2 separate regions of the Homo sapiens genome follow, and region 2 is linked to region 1. The links are contacts of gene promoters, found by promoter capture Hi-C in human tissues and cell types (Jung and others, 2019). All regions are on one chromosome and are shown on one strand. Each heading gives the region's core, a stretch centred on a gene start or on the middle of the fragment in contact. The rest is flanking DNA. Distances are from core to core; before and after follow the strand shown. Region 1 holds the start of SIDT1 (SID1 transmembrane family member 1). Region 2 has its middle 3.9 kb from the start of GTPBP8.

Region 1 (6,548 bases), core at 2,075-4,574:
GAAAATGTCTTCTCTGGAGAAAGCAACAGGAATACTGGCTGGTAGGACAGGAGGTTAATTTCCCACAATAAGTGGCTTTTGAGGGCTCCACTACAGCATTTGCATATTAAAGATTGGTCCCAGAAGGCTGTAAGATTTGAGGACATTTGGCTTATATTGAGAATACTGGCACTAAAATAATTGAAATTCTTGTTATCTCCTGTTCCCATGGTTCCCAACTTTGTATTTCTCAGACTAGTAATATTTTAACAAAAATTCTAGGGACTGCTTGGGTCATCAACCTTTTACTGTGTCATTCAAAAATATTTTCAAAACTGTTTCATAAAATAAAGGACATGTTAACACACACAGACAAAATAGGGCATAATAGAACAATTTTTAAAATGTGTTTTTATAAAAACCAAATTTGTTTTATGAAAGAAATTTGTTTTTATGTTTTTATCTGAAATGATCTCACATTTTCCAAACTATTGAATTGAAAACAGTATACATTTCATTTTATTTAGCCTTAGCTAATAACCCTTTATTCACTTATTTGTTCATTTTTGGAAAACACTAAATGTTTTTTATAAGCCTCTCTTTTCTTTAAAAAAAAAAACATTTTGAAAAAACAGGGTATCACTCTGTCCCCAGTGGGAGTACAGTGGCAAGAGCTCAGCTCACTGCAGCCTCAAATTCCTGGGCTCAAGTGATCCTCCTGCCTCCGCCTCCTAAGTAGCTGGGACTACAGGCGCATGTGCCATCACACCCAGCTAATTTTTTAATTTTTTGTAGAGAGAGGGTCTCATTATGTTTTCCAGGCTGGTCTTGAACTCCTGGTCTCAAGCAATCCTCCCACTTTGTCCTCCAGAGTGCTGGGATTACAGGTGTGAGCCATCATGCCTGGCTTATAAACCTCTTATGTGCCATTCACTGTGCTAGGTACTGGAGGGCAGAGATGAACATGACTTTGCCCCTGCCCTCAATATCTCAAGGTTTACTAGGGAAGTCAACCAGGTGATCTCAAGTGCAAAACTCACACAGTACAAGGGGAAAATGTAAAGGCAACAATTCATAAGTAGATGCTCTATCTCTATGCAGAACTGCAAGAAATACCAAAGCCTGATGTCAGGATTTACTTAGCACATGTAATTTGAGTTTTCTTACCAATGATTTAGGGGGAAGCTGAGACTTACTCCAGAGATCATGGAGTTTTCAGACTTTTTTCTGCTCCCAGCCAATCACAGGACTAGGAACACACCTCACGTGCAACATGTCAACCAGTCGATGAGTTCTCCCACGCTAGATAGAAAGAGGCTGGGTATATGGCGTTTGGGAAACAAAAACTGCAGCCTCTCCCTTGTCTACCATGAAATGGCTCTGCATACAGCCACTCTGCTCACTACAGAACATATAACCTGAAGGTTACTGGAGGACAGAGCAGGGTGAGGGCTGTGCTGCCATGGTAACAGTGCCATAGGATTTGGTGCCACACTGGAGATGGGGCACTCAGGGCACTTTCTGGCTACACACAGCTGGAAGATGTCTAGGAGCAGTGTTAGGCACATTGGTCCCCCCTGCTCAATACAAACCACCCTCACTTTGGGAAGTGATGAGGTTTTCTAGTTCCGATCTGGAGTGAGAATCAGACGGAGGCATATCATGGTATCCCAATCATCTAGTTCTGGAATTTCCCTAGAGGGTAGGGGATGCTGGTATAGTAAGGGATACATAAACACATTTATATGGGAAGAAGATCCAGAGGTTGGTACACTGGGGAGTCTCTGTCTCTGTCTCTGTCTCTCTTTCTCTCTTTCTCTCTCTGTCTCCCTCTCTCTCCCCGCCCAGTGCTCCAGAGGTACCACACTAGAGGAAAGAAATGAACTATATGCATCTTCTTACGTTATATAATCGGAGTATATATGTCAAAGGGATAGTCACTGGAACATTTTTCCCTCCTTATCTTCCCTCAACTTTTGTCAAAAATAGGTCTAGAACTTTCACACAATTATCCATCCTTATTTAAAATCAAAACCTGGATTGATCAGCTGATGGCTGCAGTTCTCACGTCTTTGCCCAGGTCTTCTGGCGTCTCTGAAGCACAACGTGTGACAATGGCACAAAAACGCAGGAAGTGACTGTTGAATGCACAGAGGTTCTGCAGCTTCCGTCCATTTTCACACAATTTCCATTTTAGATTCTGAGCAGTTCTCCCTCCCCATGCGCTATGAAATAGAAGGGTCTGGCTGAATCAGCCACTTGAAATTAGGTTTCTTCCCTGCAGGGGATTAGGAACCGAGGTGCGGTTCTTCTTCGCACTCCACACCACACCCCGCAACCCTAGAAATCAGGACTTTCCTGGAGAAAGACCCAGCAGGGACCCAGGACCCGCAGACGGTGCGGGGAACTGGTGCCTCTGCAAAGCCCAGCAATGCCCTTGACCAGGCCAGGAGAGGCGCGAGGCGAAGCAGAGTTGTCCCCGAGGCGTGTTGAGGCAGCTAGGGCAGGGCAGCGATTGCTTCGGAGGAGAAAGGGAAAGAAAGTCCCCTGGTCCCCGAAGTCTCCCAAGGTCAATTCCCAGGGGACTCCAAAGCAGCGACGGGGCTCTGAGATCTGGCAAGTTCTAGGAGTCGAGCGAGGGGAGCGAGTGTCTTACCTGGTCGGGCTGGCTGGTGTAGTTGAAAGAGTAGATGTTCTCGGTGCTGAGGTTCACCACCCCGCTGTAGACATGATCGAAATCGGCGCCCCTGGCAGCGTCGAAGGGGTCGCGGCGCGGTGCCGGGGGCTGCCTGGGGGATTTCGCCGGGTGCCCGGGCGACGCCGCCAGCAGGAGCCAGGGCAGCGCGCAGAGCAGCGCGAGCCGCAGGCAGCCGCGCATGGTGGGCACCGCGCCCGGGCTCGAAAGCGGAGCCACCCTGGGGAGGGGGCGAGCGCAGAGAGGGTCCTTCCAAAGCCCGGTGCAGGGCCAGGCGTCCGCTTCAGAGCCGAGCGGGTGATGCCTGGCGAACCCAGCCGGCCAGGGCTGGCAGCGTGCTGACGAAGGGCCGATCAAATACTGATGCTGCCGCCTGGGGTCTCCACTGGAGGTCACGGGTGGAGAGTAGGGCGGACTGGAGAAGTGGAGATGTGGGGCTGCTGATTTTCCTCCGGCTTCTAAGTCCCCCGTTTCTCATCGCCGAGAATCCCCCCACTTACCCAGCCAGAATTTAGACCGATCTCTTCTCCCTCAACCTCAATAACAGCAATAATAAAAAGGCATTGGAGTCATTAAAAAGAAATACCCGCTAGTCTCGAAAAGTCAACCTGACGCCACATCGAGGAGGAAATTCGGTCTGTTTCAAATACGTGTGCACCCTGGCTGCAGGAGAAGAAATAGAAAGCAAAAGAGCCCGTCCCCCAAGAGGGTGCGCGAGTTCGCTTTCCCAGGCTGCTACCTGCAGAGAACTCTTGCCTGTCTGAACGATAATTACTCTCTATTCTCCCCTCTCTAATAGAACCTCTCCTCAGACACCTGTTTTATTTCTTTATTACCTCCTACTCTCCATGGAGAGTCTCACGTCATCACGTTCTCTCCCTCACCATATGTGTATGTATGTAAATATGTACAGTTAAAAAAAAAAAGATATGGTAAAGAGAACAATTTCCAGCACTGCCTGAAGTCTGGTCCCGGAAGTTGTCAAAAAACGACTCAGACTAACTAGATTTATGCAGAAGGCATTTCTTTCCACCCCAGCCTCTTACCTACTTTACCATTGCAATGACTTCTTCCAGATTCTGAGAGAAACCCCAGGATTGTTTTTTTAAAGGCAGAAACCACAGCCTATCGTAAAAAGGAAATACTTTTCTGATAAAAATTAGGGGATTAGATTTAAAGAGTTAAAGAGGCAGGTAAGGAGCAGGGTGAGAATGGGGCCATCAGAAGACCTTGCAGAACATTGAACAATCACAATTTACGTGTGGAAGAGAACTCACTGTTTTATTTCAGCTTCATTACTGTATACTATAAAAGAATGTAATTGTGTTCAACCTGAAGGACCATTTAAAAAGAAGTCATTAAGAAGGAAAAGATCTTTTTCAAAAATTTAAGATTACAGATTAAAATCCTAGTCCTTGCCATCTTTAAAGAGATAGATTTGTTTTTGTTTTTACCTTGTCTAATTCCTTTAATTTCTTAAAACATCAAGAATGAATGCAATACATTTGTTGTAAAGTTTTCTGTGAAATCAGAAAACAATGCTGATGGAAGATTAAGTTAGTAGACTCCTTATTAGGACAATTTTCAGTTTTAAAGTTTTGAATGTTCTTGGCCAGGTGCAGTGGCTCATGCCTGTAATCCCAGCACTTTGGGAGGCTGAAGTGGGAGGTGGGCTAGCTTGAGGCCATGTGTTCATGACAAGTCTGGGCAACATGATGAAACCCCATCTCTACAAAAAATACAAAAATAGCTGGGCGTGGTGGTGCATGCCTGTCGTCCTAGCTACTTGGGAGTTGAGTTGGGAGGACTGCTTGAGTCCGGGAGGTCGAGGCTGCAATGAGCCGTGAACACCCCACTGCACCCCAGCTTGGATGACAGAGCAGGACCCTATCTCAAAAGGAAGAAAGGAAGGAAGGAAGAAGGAAGGAAGAAAGGAAGGAAGGAAGGAAGGAAGGAAAGAAAGAAATTTCTTGAAAATATATGGGTATATGGGCAAAAATACTAATTCAAAGGAGAGTCTGGGGGTAAAACTTCAAATAGAACTCACTGTTTTTGAGGAGCATAACGAAATAATTTCATCCAGAATTTGAATGACTTTAAACTGTTGTATTCAAAATATCTGTGCCTCTTTTCAAAGTTCAACAACATTTCATAAACTTGAAATCTACGAAGGTCCTGGAGGTTAGCTGGTGTGACCAGTTAAAGGAGTCTCTAGGATTATGGAGTTCTATTATGGCGTTCTTTTTAAACACTATAAGAGATGAGGAACTGGTTCTTTCACAAGTCAACACCTTCTTTTGGGGGCAAGTGTCTCATTATTAGAAAGACATTTCATATTCTTAGTTGAAATCTGCCTGTCTTCTACTCACTTGTACTAGTTCTGCCCTCTGGAGTCATAGGAATAAACCTAATACTTCTTCCACATGACAGACCTGTGGGTATTTAAATGGTGCTATGACCCTTCCTTCAAGATTTTATCTCAACTTTACGCAACTAAATTGGAAGCAAATGGAACAGATCCTTCATCATAGCATGAAACCCAAAATATTTATTTTAAAGCCATTTGTATGGATTATCTATACCTAACAATTTGAGTTATATATTACAAGTCACTCTGTAATATTATCTAATCCTTATTCTAGCCAAAAGTCATTCAGTGACCTCAAGTAATTAACCTCTCAGGATCACAAGGTTGTTGTAAGGATAAAAGGGAGAATGATGTATTTGAAAGTACATTAAAAAGTTTAAAGTGTTGAATGAACAAATACTGTTATGGTGTGACTGCTAGTTCAATAGCTAAAAAATAAAATGTGGTCCATTAGGTAGGTGGTTTTTTTCTTTATTTTTAAAAGGAATTTTATTTTAAATTTTTGTGGGTACTTAGTAGGTGTATATATGTATGGAGTATATGAGATATTTTGATACAGGCATGCAATGCATAATAATCACATCATGGAAAACGAGATATCCATCACCTCAAGCATTTATCCATAATGTTACAAACAACCCAATTATACTCTTTTAGTGATTTTTAAATTTACAATTAAATTATTATTGACTATAGCCTGTTGTGCAATCAAATACTACACCTTATTCATTCCATTTTTTGGTATCCATTATCCATCCCCACCTTCCTCCCCCAGCTCTCCCACTACCCTTCCCAGCCTCTGGTAACCATCCTTCTACTCTCTTTCTCCATGAGTTCAATTGTTTTGATTTTAAAGGCAGTTTTTTTTTTTTAATATCTACAATGTCAGGATTCTACTGTGAGAGACTAAATATGCAAGTGGGCAATGGCCAGACCATAAATAGCAATACAACTAACTCTGACCCACAGTTTCTGCAGCAATCAGCTCAGGAAACAAAAACACTTTAGCAGCAACCAGTCCAAGAAATCAAACTACAACTGCTGCAGCAAATGGCCCAAAAGAATTAGGTCTTGCTCAATGAGTCAATTTCCCCAATTTTTGCCCCTGCTTCCAACTTAGGATCAATCAGAGAAAGTTAAATATGCTTCCCAAACCACAAAATGCCCTGCTCCTACTTAGCCTGCCTCCAGCTTCCAACAGCAAGATCCAGTCAGAGCATACCTGAAACCTTCCCCTTTTATAACTATGAAGTTTTCTCACTCCCCTTCCTGCCTTTGAGTCTCTACTAAGCAGAAGTGATGGTGGTCAACTCCCTTGCTAGAGCAAGCTCTGAATAATTAGCCTCTGTTTGTTTTCATTTGTGTGAGCTTCACTTGTTTCTGTAGTTTTCTTGAAGTTTCCACAGAGATACTGTCTGCACTGCATGTCACCATGGATCCCAGTTCTCTGCCAGGTGCAGTACCCACCAAGGCTTCTTGTGCCTCACTGCACACAGTTGAGTCTGC
Region 2 (6,394 bases), core at 3,887-6,386, 550 kb after region 1:
AATATTCATATGTTAAAAAAACTAGGTTTTCTAAAACATCAGCAGCCCAGAAAGGGTAACTCATGGTTTCTTGAGCTATTCCCCAGGTTGTTCAGTAATTAAACAGTACAATTCTTGAATAAATATGATACAAAAATTAATGAACAGAACCTGCGACTTTGAGGGCAGCCAATACGGCAGCCTGATGTGCTGCTGGCTGGCTAATTTTTTATTGCTCTTTGCATTAGGGTTTGGGGTGCCTTTCTGTTCGCTATTCTCTCTCCTCCATGTATAAAAGTGTGTATAATACTCTGTTGTATACATCAGAAATTTGGGATTCTCATTAGTGTGTGTTTCACTCATCCATGTGAAGAGATCACCAAACAGTCTTTGTGTGAGCAACAAGGCTGTTTATTTCACCTGGGTGCAGGTGGGCTGAGTCCCAAAAGAGAGTCAGCAAAGGTGGTGGGATTATCATTAGTTCTTATAGGTTTTGGGACAGGCGGTGGAGTTAAGAGCAATGTTTTAGGGGCAGAGGGTAGATCTCACAAAGTACATTCTCAAGGGTGGGGAGAATTACAAAGAAACTTCTTAAGGGTGGGGGAGATTATAAAGAACATTGATCAGTTAGGATAGGGCAGAAACAAATCACAATGGTGGAATGTCATCAGTTAAGCTGTTTTCCCTTCTGTGGATCTTCAGGCCTTCTGGATGTATACGTGCAGGTCACTGGGGATATGATGGCTTAGCTTGGGCTCAGAGGCCTGACGCTGTGTATGTAATATACTTTGAAAGTGCTTTTATACATGCCATTTTGTTTTCAAACCTTGGAACCCCAGGTTTGGAAATAAGAGCATAAAAGAGTTTTGGCGATTCTTAGAAAGGTTTTAGAGGTGTTCCGGGATTAATAGACATTATAGTATTCATTTAATAATCATTCATGTTTCTGAATTCTAAATCATTTTGGATTTCACCTGATAGGACAAATCATTTTAGAATTATTTGACAGGACAGTTTTTGCAACAAATTGTCTTGTCATGCAAAGCTTGAAGGATCAAACGGTCTACTGGAAAGAAGTATGACTAGTAAAACCACTTGACAATTTATATATTTTTTTCTCTTTCACTTCATCTTTTAAAAGCATCTGTGTAAACAAAGCATATAAAACTTCAGGATGATTTAGAGTTAATAATACACTATGTTTTCCCTCAACATGATTAAACTCATAATTTGCAGAAGTTCAAATATGAAACATACATAGCAGTGAGACCTACTAGTGAGACAGGTGAGGGCTAGAATTGGGAGGAATTAGTTTATAATAACCCCATTGTAGGGCTGCAGTGGAAATCATCTGGTCTACAGGGAATTATCAAAGCCCAGGAAAAGAGGCTCACACCTGTAATCCTAGCACTTTGGGAGGCCAAGGCAGGAGGATCGCTTGAGCCTGGGCAACAAAACGAGACTGTCCCTAAAAAAATAATAAAAACAAAATTAGTATTGAAGGGAATCAAGTCTGGTGGATAGGATGTTGTGACAGGACTTTCTGGGTTCTGGCAATAGTACTGTGAATCTGTTGTTGTTGGCAGCATCTTGGTTCGAGGTGGTCTTTTTGTGTGTGGAGTAGGAGCTTAGCCAATAAGTGTAGATTGGGAGTCAGGATCTAGCCTGCTAGATCAGGACTAGGTCAGGGCTAAGATTCAGAATAGGGTTTTAGTCCAAGTAGGGAAAAGAAGGACTGTAGATTAGAAAATCTTGCTGTCTAATATGCGCCTCCCATTTCCTAGGTCCAAAACAGAATTTCTAATATCCTTTAATTGTCTCCTAATCTGTAAGAGACAATGGCACCTCCATTCCTCCAATTGACTTAGCTGAAAATCTTGGGAGAAAATTCTGGACTCCTTTTTCTGTTACCCCAAGTCCAAGTTGTTAGCAATCCCCTTGGCTTTACCTTGAAAACATATCCTGAATTGGATACTTTTTAGCACATCCACTGCCACCACCCTGATACAAGCCACCATTATCTCCCACCTAGATTATTGCAGTAGCTTTCAAATTGATCACCCACCTTTGCCCTTTGCCCCCTTCAGTATATTTGCAACATGGTGATAGGGAAGTGGGGCAGGGAAGTGGGGCAGGGAATTGTGAGGAGAAGGGCAGGTCCCTGGCTAGAGCTCCACCCCCGGCCTGTGCCCACGGACCTAGGTGAGGACAGGCACTTCTGGCTTTGTGCCCAAATGTTGCATTTCCCAAAGCCACCCAGGTCTGCCACACCCCCATCCTGTGCCTATAAAAACCCCGACACCTAGCAGGCAGACACACAAGTGGTTGGACCTTGAGAGGAACACCTTGGTGGAAGAAGACACGAGCTGCTGGATGTCAAGAGGACGTCGAGGGGAGCAAGCTGCCCACCAGCAGGCCATTGACCAGTAGAATGATGCAGAGTTTGGCCGGGGCGGTTGGAGGGCTGCTGAGTGGCTGAACTCCTGGGGAAAACCATCTCCCTTCTGGCTCCCCTATCTGCTGTGAGCTACTTCCAGTCAAAACCATGCACTCATTCTCCAAGCCCATGTGTGATCCGATTCTTCCAGTACACCAAGGCAAGAACCCAGGATATAGAAAACTCTTTGTCCTTGTGACAAGGTAGACGGTCTAATTAGCTGGTTAACACAAGCTGCCTATAGATGACAAAACTAAAAGCGCACACGGTAGCAGATGCCCACTGAGGCTTCAGGAGCTGTAAACATCCACCCCTAGATGCTGCCGTGGGGTCGGAGCCCCACAACCTGCCTGTCTGTATGCTCCCCTAGAGGTTTGAGCAGTGGGGCCCTGAAGAAGCGAGCCATTCCTTGTCACATGCCCTTCGAGCGGGACAAGAGTACTTTTCCCATTTCAGTGGCAGCAACCATGATCCTGTTAAAACATAAGCTAAACCTCCAAGAGCTTCCTGTCTCACTCATAGAAAAAGTTCTTGCACTAACCTAAAAAGCCCTACATGAACTTTCATTTTCTTCTTCCACTCTTGTCTGACTTCATCTATTGTTATTTTTCCCCTTTTCTACTCCATTCCAGCCACACTGGCTTCCTTGCTGTTTTTCAAGCAAGCCATATACACACACCTGCCTCTGTGTCCTTGTACTTCTCCCTGGAATGCTTACCCCAGATAATCACATGGCTTATTCCCAGTTTGACTTAGGATGTATTTATGGCCAACCTTCTGAGAAAAAGTGCCTTCTGTTTTGATAACGAGGAGGTAGTTTACCACAAAGTTAACAAGGTTTTAAAAATTTAATATGACTTTGACAGGCGTTACTTTATACATCATCCCCAGAATCAGCTTTTATTGCTAAAATTCATCTGCCCTAAATGTCATAGTTATACTCTGTCATGCTCAGCTAAGAATAGAAGGAAGATAGGTAGGACAGGATCCTCTCAATTGTTCTTACTGCGATGTCTGCCTCTATAGTGAATGGCCATTAGGTCCAGAGTGATCCCAATTTATGTCCAGGTCCTATAGGTTTCAAGCTTATGGAATCCATCTAAGACATGAAGAAGGTAAACTTTGTAGGCCTAGATAGGTAGGGGCACTGGGAACATCAGATAACTCCCATCCTAAGTTAAACATGGTTTGAATGTCCTGACAGAAGCAAGAGCAGGGACTCTAGCAAAACTTACTTCTAGAAATAGAGAGAGGGAATGGATTAGGTCTCAGTGTCTGATTTCCACTAGACCTTTCTTACCCTGACTTTTCTGCTTGTCTTAACAACAATAATGAACATTTATTGGGTGTCTGCTATGCCAGGAATTTATCTGAGTACTGATAAACTATGAGAAAGACCTGGTTACATTCCAATTAGGATATCAAACTCTTGTATTAGGAAGAAAATATTGGGAGAAAGGAAGATGAAAGAGGCTTTATATGAAGGAGCATGATATGGGAGAAACTTCCACATAAATTACTTAAATTGTGATGACTACTATCTGAATGAATGATTTAAATTTAAAATACAATTAATTATATTTTTCTTGAGTTTTCTGTGCAACATTCATTTTAAAATTTTACTTTAGATATTACCTGACACATTGACACAAATTTGTGGCACAACAAGTTTGATTTGTTCACCTAATTTCTTTCTTTTTTTTTTTAGAGACAAGGTCTCGCTCTGTTGCCCAGGCTGGAATGGGCACAATCATGGCTCACTGTAGTCTCAACCTCCTGGGCTCAAGTGATCTTCCTGCCTCAGCCTCCTAAGTAGCTGAGACGACAGGCACTCAACCACCCTTGGCTAATTTTACAAAGTTTTTTTGTGTGTGTGTGCTTTTTTTTTTTGGAGAGACAGAGTCTCACTATGTTGCTGAGGTCAGTTTTGAACTCCTAGCCTCAAGAAATCATCCTGCCTTAGCCTCCCAAAATGTTGGGATTACAGGCATGAGCCACCACGCCCAGGCTTAATTTCTTAATTAGGGCATAAATTATTATTCTTGAGATTTATTATTTTACTATAATTCAAGAACCAATAGAGACCTATTTTCCATGATTTTAGTCTTTGGAGCTCATGAAAGCATTGAGCTTTTTAAATATCTGATTAATGTGTCTTTAGAGAATATATCTAAATTTAGAGAAGTTGTTTCTTTTTCAGAGAAGTTGTTTGAGCTTTCTTTTAAGGTTGTGCCTACTGCACTGACAGATTTCTCTAAAGAGATCTGGAGATTAACCATCAGACAGTAATCATAGGTAGGAGGTGAGTTTGTAGAGTGATTTGGATTCTGGAGGAGGAGTAAAGGTTCACTTCTTTCAAGGTTGTTTTTATCAATAGAGGGAGAAATGATTGCTTTAAGTGGTCTTAATTTTTTTCATTCGTAATTTTGCATTTGGCTCTGTGTCATACAAGTGCTATTAAAATAATTTGGAACACTATTTACCATATTCAGGTTGTGTTTTTATATCAGTAACAAGCTCAGAGGGTTTTTTTAAAATTGTTTTTGGAAAATAGTATGGATTTTGCTGTTCTGACTGATTAATTCGTTAACATTTTAATTCTTGTTGTGTGTTAAGCAAGGTTATTTTAGTGGGCAAGTTTACTTTGTAGTACACATCTAGTTTATATCTTGTTGCCTTGTTGGAAGTGAATGGAATGTTCTCTAACACCCTGAGGAGATGAGGCAACATTCACAGGCAGATATATTGATGTATATTCAAATTTTTAACTTATTCATAGGTAGAGTGTGTCAGGTGTTCCCAAGACTAGCTCCCAAATGAGGCGAGCAAGGATGCACAGAACTCAGCATATAGTTGTACTTATGCCTATAATTTACAACAACAAAAGAATACAAAGCAAGCCTGGCAAGGGGAAAAGGCACTCAAAGTGAAGTTTGGAGGAAGCCAGGCACAAGCTTCTAATTGTCCCCTAAGTTGCACAGGATGCAATTAATTCTGCCAGCAATGAGTTTTAACAACATGTGTGAAATGTTGTCTACTAGCAAAGCTCACCTGAGTCTAGGAGTCCAGGGTTTTTACCGAGCGCTGTTCATATAGGCATCTAGTGCCTGTGTGACTGACTATAGTCACTGAAAGTTCAGATTTGCAGAAGGAAAGCAGCATCAGTATGTACCACTTGTTTGTTCAAATAGTTTAGATACAGTGAGCCACTCATGAATGGAAAGTTGGCTCTGTGCCATGCAAGGAAACTGTTTACCAGTCAAGTTCTCAAATGTCAGCCCAGTGCCAATCTTGTAAACAAATCTTTCTAAGGGTAGCAGCCACAGGCCTGCTATATGAACTGTTTTCTGCACATAGATTAAAAGATAAAAACATTTAAAAATGAGAAGTTTCTCACCTGCACTTATTGTGAGATTGTATACTTGTAGGAAAGATGTATTCCAGGTTCTGCTCTAAATACAAGTGATTTCTCTGGAGATTTTTGAGAAAAGTGGGACAGACTTTCTCTAGTCATTTTAATAGGACATGGCAAAACTAGAATTCTTCCTGTGGAAGGAGGTTATAATCAAAGCTGCTGTCTCAGCCACCTGTAATAAAGTATGGGGCCTCTGGAGAGGAGTGCAATGAATTGGTGATTCAACTGGTATGAACATCAGGTTTAGCTGGAGTTGAGTGCAGCAATGTCCTTGAACATTCCCTCCAACCTCCTTACCCATCCTCCTCTAGGGGCTGGACAATCAGATTCAAACAATGTTTTGTGATTACTCTCTAGAAAGGAATAATGCCTGGTGTAGTGGTACTAGGTGGTTACCTAATAGGCAGGATCTCATGGGTGGCAGGCGCACGAGTGGTTGAGCCCAGAATGCTGTGATATATCTCTCTTCTGCCTAGACTAGTGCAAGTCAGAACCTAGCCTTTCACTCCTCTCTCTAGGTATCTGTTATTTACCAAGATAGCTGATTTTTTTTAAAAGATAGC

Evidence for each region. The method cuts DNA at HindIII sites, captures the fragments that hold promoters and counts their contacts. A contact is called where the count stands out against the background at its distance.
Region 2: a contact is called between a fragment that was not itself captured here and the fragment with the promoter of SIDT1 in region 1, in 1 of the 25 tissues and cell types used here (mesenchymal stem cells).

What each region holds. Positions count from the first base shown.
Region 1 is chr3:113,529,331-113,535,878 of GRCh38, reverse strand. SIDT1 (SID1 transmembrane family member 1) reads right to left here and starts at 3,324. Exons shown (of 25, transcript NM_017699.3): 1 at 2,636-3,324. The coding sequence starts at 2,857. RefSeq lists enhancers at 2,433-2,562, 3,033-3,362, 3,503-3,692, 3,713-3,932 and a silencer at 2,713-2,762. The HindIII fragment of the contact is 8,425 bases long and covers 1-6,548 here.
Region 2 is chr3:112,983,917-112,990,310 of GRCh38, reverse strand. No RefSeq gene overlaps it. Among named protein-coding and RNA genes, the nearest start is that of GTPBP8, 3.9 kb to the left of the region's middle. The HindIII fragment of the contact is 5,746 bases long and covers 2,264-6,394 here.